3 separate regions of the Homo sapiens genome follow, and all the other regions are linked to region 1. The links are contacts of gene promoters, found by promoter capture Hi-C in blood cells and fetal thymus (Javierre and others, 2016). All regions are on one chromosome and are shown on one strand. The core of a region is centred on a gene start or on the middle of the fragment in contact, and the rest is flanking DNA. Distances in the headings are between cores, read along the strand shown. Region 1 holds the start of CLEC9A (C-type lectin domain containing 9A). Region 2 has its middle 27 kb from the start of KLRB1. Region 3 has its middle 10 kb from the start of CD69.

What was found. Contacts are between HindIII fragments. The CHiCAGO score rates a contact against its expected background, and 5 or more counts as called.
Region 2: a fragment that was not itself captured here is called in contact with the fragment with the promoter of CLEC9A in region 1 in 1 of 17 cell types (neutrophils); the score reaches 5.2 in neutrophils.
Region 3: a contact is called between a fragment that was not itself captured here and the fragment with the promoter of CLEC9A in region 1, in 7 of 17 cell types (M2 macrophages, megakaryocytes, M0 macrophages and 4 more). The highest score is 17.1, in M2 macrophages.

The regions. Positions count from the first base shown.
Region 1 is chr12:10,029,413-10,031,944 of GRCh38, forward strand. CLEC9A (C-type lectin domain containing 9A) reads left to right here and starts at 1,270. Exons shown (of 9, transcript NM_207345.4): 1 at 1,270-1,560. It overlaps LOC102724020 (a long non-coding RNA gene), which reads right to left and starts at 1,211. Exons shown (of 4, transcript NR_169587.1): 1 at 1,131-1,211. The HindIII fragment of the contact is 4,478 bases long and covers 1-2,532 here.
Region 2 is chr12:9,633,621-9,636,152 of GRCh38, forward strand. It overlaps the pseudogene LOC374443. Among named protein-coding and RNA genes, the nearest start is that of KLRB1, 27 kb to the left of the region's middle. The HindIII fragment of the contact is 2,637 bases long and covers 1-2,532 here.
Region 3 is chr12:9,749,413-9,751,944 of GRCh38, forward strand. No RefSeq gene overlaps it. Among named protein-coding and RNA genes, the nearest start is that of CD69, 10 kb to the right of the region's middle. RefSeq lists an enhancer at 1,301-1,595 and a silencer at 2,056-2,135. The HindIII fragment of the contact is 1,330 bases long and covers 604-1,933 here.

The DNA of each region.
Region 1 (2,532 bases), core at 20-2,519:
TCTGGGGTAATAGGTATGTTGTACCTGAATTCCACTCTCCCTCAAAATATCTGTCTCAAATTTGTATATACATTAGTAGGTATCAATCAGGAAGGTCTCCCTCAACCCATTCAATAGGCCCTGCCACAAAATTTGAAAAGTTTAAAAAATTCAGAGCCCTGCTTATGTACATGGGTGTACATTTTTGCAGACAAAAATCCCCTGTGCCCTACCTACTCAGCAATCTTCCCCCTTCCTATCAATCTTCCTCTTCCCCTGAATCATTGGTCACAACTGATCTCTTTGTTTTCTTTGTCTTGGTTTTTCTCGAATGTCATATAGCTAGGATAATATGATAGCTTTTCAAACCGGCTTCTTTCACGTAGTAATATGCATTTAAGATTCCTCCATGTTTTTCATAGTTTGACAACATTTCATTTTGTTGTCGAATGATACTCCATTGCATGAATGTACCACAGTTTGTTTATCCACTCATCTTTTGAAAGACATCATAATTACTTCTAATGTCTGGCAATTATGAATAAAGCTCCTGTGAAAATGTGTGTGCCAGTTTTTGTGTGTGTTGGGAGCAAGCCCCCCAAAATCCGGCCATAAACTGGCCCCAAAACTGGCCATAAACAAAATCTCTGCAGCACTGTGACATGTTCATGATGGCCCTAACACCCATGCTGGAAGGTGGTGGGTTTACGGGAATGAGGGCAAGGAGCAGCTGGCCCGCCCAGGGTGGAAAACCACTTAAAGACATTCTTAAGCCACAAACAATAGCATGAGCAATTTATGCCTTAAGGGCATGTTCCCGCTGCAGTTAACTAGCCCAACCTATTTCTTTAATTCGGCCCATCCCTTTGTTTCCCATAAGGGATACTTTCAGTTAACCTAATATCTACAGAAACCATGCTAATGACTGGCTTGCTGCTAATAAATACGTGGGTAAATCTCTGTTCGGGGCTCTCGGCTGTGAAGGCTGTGAGACCCCTCATTTCCCACTTCACACCTCTATATTTCTGTGTGTGTCTTTAATTCCTCTAGCGCCTCTGGGTTAGGGTCTCCCAGACCGAGCTGGTCTCAGCAGTGTGTACAGGTTTTCCACTTTCTATGGTTCCTAGATTGTCTGTTAATACTATACTTACCTCTATAAGAAACTGTCAAGTTTACCGGGCCGCGAGGGTGCAGGCTGCGCAGATGGTGTGGTCCTGCGCCCCGAGGGCCGCAGCAGCTCATCCGGCAGCTCCCACCCCAACAACCTGGAAGGGGGCGGGACTTCCGTTTGTACCCGGCTGTGGCAATCTGTGGTGAAGTTGAAATGCTTTTCTGCTAGACTGGCAACATGTTTTGATTCTTCTCAAATAACTCGCAAGCTCTTGTGAAGCACAACGGCCTACCTTGTCCTGAAGAAAACATACTCTAAGGCCCACAGATGATTAAACCCAGCCATTTATGTGACAATAGCATTTTTATTTTTCTTATCAAGATCTGGGTATTTGATCCACACAATGGTAAAGATTCCCATGTTAGCCAAGATCTAAATGATTCAAACTGATGATACTCTCTGCAGAAGAGGTAAGAACCACTGGCAGTAGGGTGGAAGGTATGTCATTACAGATGATGCTGACAGAGAAGGTCATCTGAACCTACTTTATAAGAAAGGCATGATTAAAGGAGAAAGGGGAAAGGGCATTCTAGGTTAGGAAAGATTCTGAAGAAATGTAAAATAATATGAAGGTGTGAGCTGATATATTTAAGAAATAATGAATGATATGTGGGAGTATGTATCATCTGCAGAGATGGATGAGGGAAGATGCAAGTGGAGGGGAAGGCTGGAGCCGCTGGTGGAAAGACGTTAAGTGTATTTCAATGGCCTGATACTGCAGGCAGTAGACAGCCTCTGTAAATCAGGTAGCTTCCTTACTCTTGCTCCTACTGATCCCTCAGTCTAAAATGCCCTCTGCACTTTCTCTTTAGAGATAGAGAGGGAAAGGGAGTCAAACACGAAATCTCCAGGAGGCCATCCCTGGTTATTTCTTACTCCTCTGTTGATTTCCTTTAATCTGTGAAGTGTCTTCTAACTCGTGGCCTGAGGCTTTAGTGACTCTGCTGACTCATTGTCTGGTGCTACTGATTGTGCTAATGGTCTTCGATATTGTGTCCAGTGCCCCCCACCATTTTGGGAAGAAATTGGCTTTAGTTTTTACTCAGATTGAAATTTTATTTAGAAACGGGAGTAGCAAGACCAGGTGCAGTTAGTTACACCTGTAATCCCAGCATTTTGGAAGGCCAAGGTGGGAGGATTGCTTGAAGCCAGGAGGTTGAGAAATGGGAGTAGCAACCAATGTCGGTAGAAGAAACAGCATATAATAACAGGATGTGATAAATCTCAAGAAAAGTTACGCACAAATTACTATGGCAGCAGGAACGAGTGAGCCGCCCGATGCTGTCAGTGAAGGCTCTGAGGATTGGGAAGGATTGGCAGGGTTACAGGAGACAAACAAATGCTACAAATAACATTCCAAGTAGAAGGGGAAGTGAGGGTAG
Region 2 (2,532 bases), core at 22-2,521, 400 kb before region 1:
CTCTTTGTTAGAAAAGAAATGATTTTTTGGGCTGCTTTTTGTTAAAATGGAAAATTCTGCCTATGACTCTGTTGTCCTTACTATCTGCCTAAATAATTTATTTCTATGTCCTGTATCACTGGATTCCCCCCACCTACCAAGTTGTTCTTAAAAACTGCTCCCTGAATGCTCTAAGAGACTGATTTGAGTTTTGAATAAAACTCTGGACTCCCACACAGCTGCCTCTGCATGAGTTACTCTTTCTCTATTGCAATTTCCCTGTCTTGATATATTGGCTCTGTCTAGGCCTTGGGCAAGGTGAACCTGTTGGGTGGTTACATTCTCACTGTTATAATTTTTCAAAGGTGATTTCAGTCATGCCACCATCAGTGTAGGTCTCACCTGGGAGATTGTTAGAAATGTAGAATCCTGGACCCAGTGAATATGAATCTGCAGTTTTAAAAGATCTCCAGGTAATACATAGATGAATTAAAGTTTTAGAGCTAATGCTATAAGTGACATGGCTTCTTGATAAGTTATTTTCCGATTTTCAATCTGAGGTCCCCTGGGCTGCCTGCATGGATGTGTGGATAGGGGTTGAGGAAAAGGATGAACATTGGTGTTTCTCTTCAAGAGTTTGAATTTGATGTTTGTTTGCACACTTCAATGTATCTGTATATTTTAAAAAGTGGAGCAGTTATTCCTAGAGTGAAACTTTTGTATTCACCTAGAAAATCCATTTCAACTATCTGAGTTAGTTTACCAACAGTTCCCAGAAGAGGGCGCTGCAATGCCTTTCTTTTTCTGTCCTTACACCTGTGTACTGAAGTCAGAAACTAATTGATGAAATGTTTAAATCCACATTATTTCATTGGAGGTACCAATACTTGTATTTGCTAAGTAGATATTCTTTTCTTTACTTTGTAGATGAGTAAACAGGAAGACTGAACTGTTTCTCAACTCCCAAATTCAGGCTTCTTTCAAAATCTACAGTATCATTGGGGGCTGTTATACCAGGACACATGGAGGTGAAGAACTAAAGCAAAATCGTGTCTACTTCACAGTTTTGCCTAAGGCTGGGCTTAATTCTTAAAAAGGTAGCTCTGCTCTTAGTTGAGTGGTCTGGCTAAATTCAAGCAGATTAAACCAGTGTTTATTGTGTTGCTTTGCTAAAAGCCTTTTAGCTGCTTTCAACACAAAATGTTATCCATATTGCTTAGACTTTGCAAACGTAAATAAAATATTCTGTTATGAGTTTTGCAAGAATTTTGAGGGTGAGTTAATGTCAAGGTACCTCTGAACAAGATTTTATACATGTATAGGATGAACGGGACTGCCTTGATGTTCCCCTCAACTTGACTAAACTTTAGACAGATTTCTCCCTGACGTATCACTCCTTTACTTCTCTTTTCTTAGATTGTTTACTTTAGAAAACTTCCCACTATAAATTCTTTCTGTCTTCTTATTTGAGATTTAAATTTTTCTCTAGCCTTTTATCGGTTTTGCAACCCAGGAATATCTTTCTCAAAGACCTGGGAGCCATTTCTTTGAAAAATAATCATCAAGAAAAATAGTTCCCTTATCTTCCCATCTCTGTGGGAGGGTAGTACTCTAACTTCCATATGTGCCAGTTAGCAAATACAGATGGCCTAATCATGTTGACCCACCTTCCCCACTAATATTCTCCAGAACTTTTTCACTAGCATACTCCAGCCTTTACAATCTCTCCTGCTTTTTGTTCAACAGATTTGAATACAGTCTCTCTTTCTTATTGGAACAGGCTTGACACCTATTGCAACAATTTTGAATAAAGTCTTCCTTGCCTATTTAACTTTGTCCAATGCAATTTTTCTTTGAGAATAGCCTACAGAGATTCAAATACAATAAGGTTATTGTATTAGCTACTTGCATACTACTAGCATTCTTTATGACTCATTATTAGAAAATAATAAGTGCAATTGAGGAATATGGGTATTTTTCCTCTACAATTGAAACCACTGAAAAGTAATCCTATAAACAAAGTAGCCCCTGTCCAATGTCTTTCCCTTATATCTTCCTAAAACACATTATTCTACTGTTCTTCCCACTTCAAGGGCCACAGTTTCTCATTTGCTGACTTTTCCTGTGTTTTCCTCTAAATGCAAAATTAAGATTTTATTCTTGGCTCACTTCACTTCTGTATTTACACAGGTACAGATGTGTAGATTAACAGATCTAGTTGTCGCTTCCACAGTTACCCTTCTGCAAACCTGTTCCACCTAGCAGTCAGAGGTATCTTCTAAAATATAAAAATGCAAAAGTATCTTTTCTCTGCTTGAAGTCCTTCAATAGCTCCTTTTTGCAGTTAGAGAAAAAAATGATACCCAAATCCTTCTCGCTGTTTAACAAGGTCCAATACAATCTAGCATCTTTACATGTCCTCAGCCTCAACCTTCACCACTCATCCTTCTCCACTTCTGCCTCCACTGCCATGTTGATCATATTAGATCCACAAGAACTTCTTTCCATTCCTAGCACATGCCAGGTTCCCCTTCCTTAGGCCCTTTGCTCCTG
Region 3 (2,532 bases), core at 19-2,518, 280 kb before region 1:
AAAGAAAGAGATCCAAAATTATAGAAAAACATAAAGAAAATAAATACTTCCTATATTCCTCCTCCTCAGGGAAAACCACTGTGTTTACTTTAGTAGTTTTACTTTCTGTCAGCATATAGAAATATAAAACATGTTTTGTATATTTAATATTGAACAGGAAATAATCCTATTGTATATATTATTTTAAACTAGCAGCAATAATAGTTTGAGTATTCTTTCATATACATAAATGTTCTTCATTATTTTTTAATGTTGGGATAGCATTTCATCATGTAGGAGCATTATATTTATTTAACTAAATCTTTGGTTTTGGACAATTAGGTAGCTTCTGATTTTTCACTACTAGAAATATCCCTTTGATAAACATTTTTGTGGTTATGTCTTGCACATCCAAGATTATTTCTTTAAAATCTCCCTCCCTCCCCAGTAAGTATTGTCAAGCTGCTTTCCAAAGGGTAAAGGAAACCAGTTTACACCATCACCAGCAGTCGTTCTGGTCATATATTTCCCAATATTTTTCCCTGAAAAATCATTTACATTTTAATTTCAGTTATAATACATTTTCATGTGCAAAATCTAATCAAATTATGAAAATTGACAGCAAGCTTAAAAATATCATTTCTATATTAGTATCATACAATTTTTAAGTAGTTGAATACTGACTATAGCACCTAACAGTTCAATGGCATTTTAGCCTTTTTAAAAAGTTTTATCCAATCCCTACAATTATGTGAAATGTGCAGCTGATGTATTCCCCTTTCCAGAGGAAGAAATTGAAATTATGTTGAAAAAGCAACGCAAAACACGGATAACTGATAGTTTTATTTTACACATATTTATGTAACTATCCAAGATGAATGTAGCCTACAGAGTTAAAATTTTGATAATTAGCTAAAGGTTTGAATACAGGAGTATATCTTTAATATGCTTCCATAGCACCCTACGTTTTTCCTATTATAACATTCATCACACCATGTCAATTCATCTTGTTGTTTGTTTTACAAATAGACCACGAATTCCACAAGGCCAGTTGCCATGCGGAATTTGCTGAGTATTTTAACTCTGGTGTCCACCATAGTAGTAGGTGCTTACTTATAACTTGTGAAATGAAATTTTTAAAAGGCTTTCCAAAAACAAATACAAATAAGATATATTACGTAGAAATAGACATGTCGTGTAGAAACGCGGCTTTATGCCAATACTGGAAGTTTGAAGACATAGTGTTTCTAGTTCTAATAATCATCATGAGTATTTAATACATGCCTATGGTGTACTAGGGAGCCAGATAATGTTTTAAGTTTGTTTTCATGTACTAACTAATTTAACATCTAACTAATTTTAGCTGAATTTTGAACGAGTTCTGATAAAATAGCTAGTCAGCCCGCGCGTGGCAGAGATGAAACTCGGGCGGTCTGGCCCCCGTGCTTTGGGTCTCAGCAGCTCCACGCTCCACATAGATGTTTTGTAGGATCCTTAAAACAGAAGTGCAGTAATCTCGTATAACCACTAGATGGCACTGCAACTTTTGTAACAGGGGACTTAGCCGGGGGCAGGAGGGGTTCTTGAGACAAACCCATTTTTTATATTTGTCATTGGTCACTTGCAAGTAGAGTCATACTTTAAATAATAACATTATTCCCTTTAAGAATTGTATATTTTTTATCTATTTAAAGAAAACAGTTGTCCTTATGAATAAAATGACTTCAAATTATGTGTAAAAAATAACTCTGTTATCCGTGTTTTGCGTCGCTTTTTCAACATAATTTCAACTTCTTCCTCTGGAAAGGGAAATACATCAGCTGCTCATTTCACATAATTATAGGGATTCAATAAAATTATTTGTAAAAATGATAAAATTCATTGAATTGTTAGGTGATACAGTCAGTATTCAATGACTTAAAAATTGTGTCATACTAATATAGAAATATTTTTAAGCTTGCTCTCAATTTTCATAATTTGATTAGATTTATGCACATAAAAATATGTTATAACTAAAATATTAATCGCAAGACATTGTTTTCTAAGATGACTCGGGAGTAGATTGTTGGTAATGATAGAATATTACCGCTAGGAGGCTGCTTGTTTCTTTTTTCCCACAGCTGTGGGAACTCAGGAGCACAGAGGTCATTATTTTTCACTAAGCAGTGTCTGAAATCCACATTTCTGTTTGCCGTTTGCCAATAGTTTAGAGATACCATACACATCATACATTTCCAACAAGCAGAGAAGAATATTGCAAATTACATTTATAAAACAATTTTGAAGGTAATCAAATGTATTAGGCTATTCTTGCATTGCTATAAAAATATCTGAGACTGGGTAATTTATAAAGAAAAAAGGCTTAATTGGCTTACGGTTCTGCAGTTTTTACAAGCATAATGCTGACACTGCTCAGCTTCCGCGGAAGCTTAGGGAGCTTTTATGTATGTTGGAAGGTGAAGTGGAGTGGGAGCAGGCATGTCACATGGAGAAAGCAGGAAAGAGAGAGAGAAAGAGAGAGAGAGAGAGAGAAAGTGCTGCACACTTTGAAAA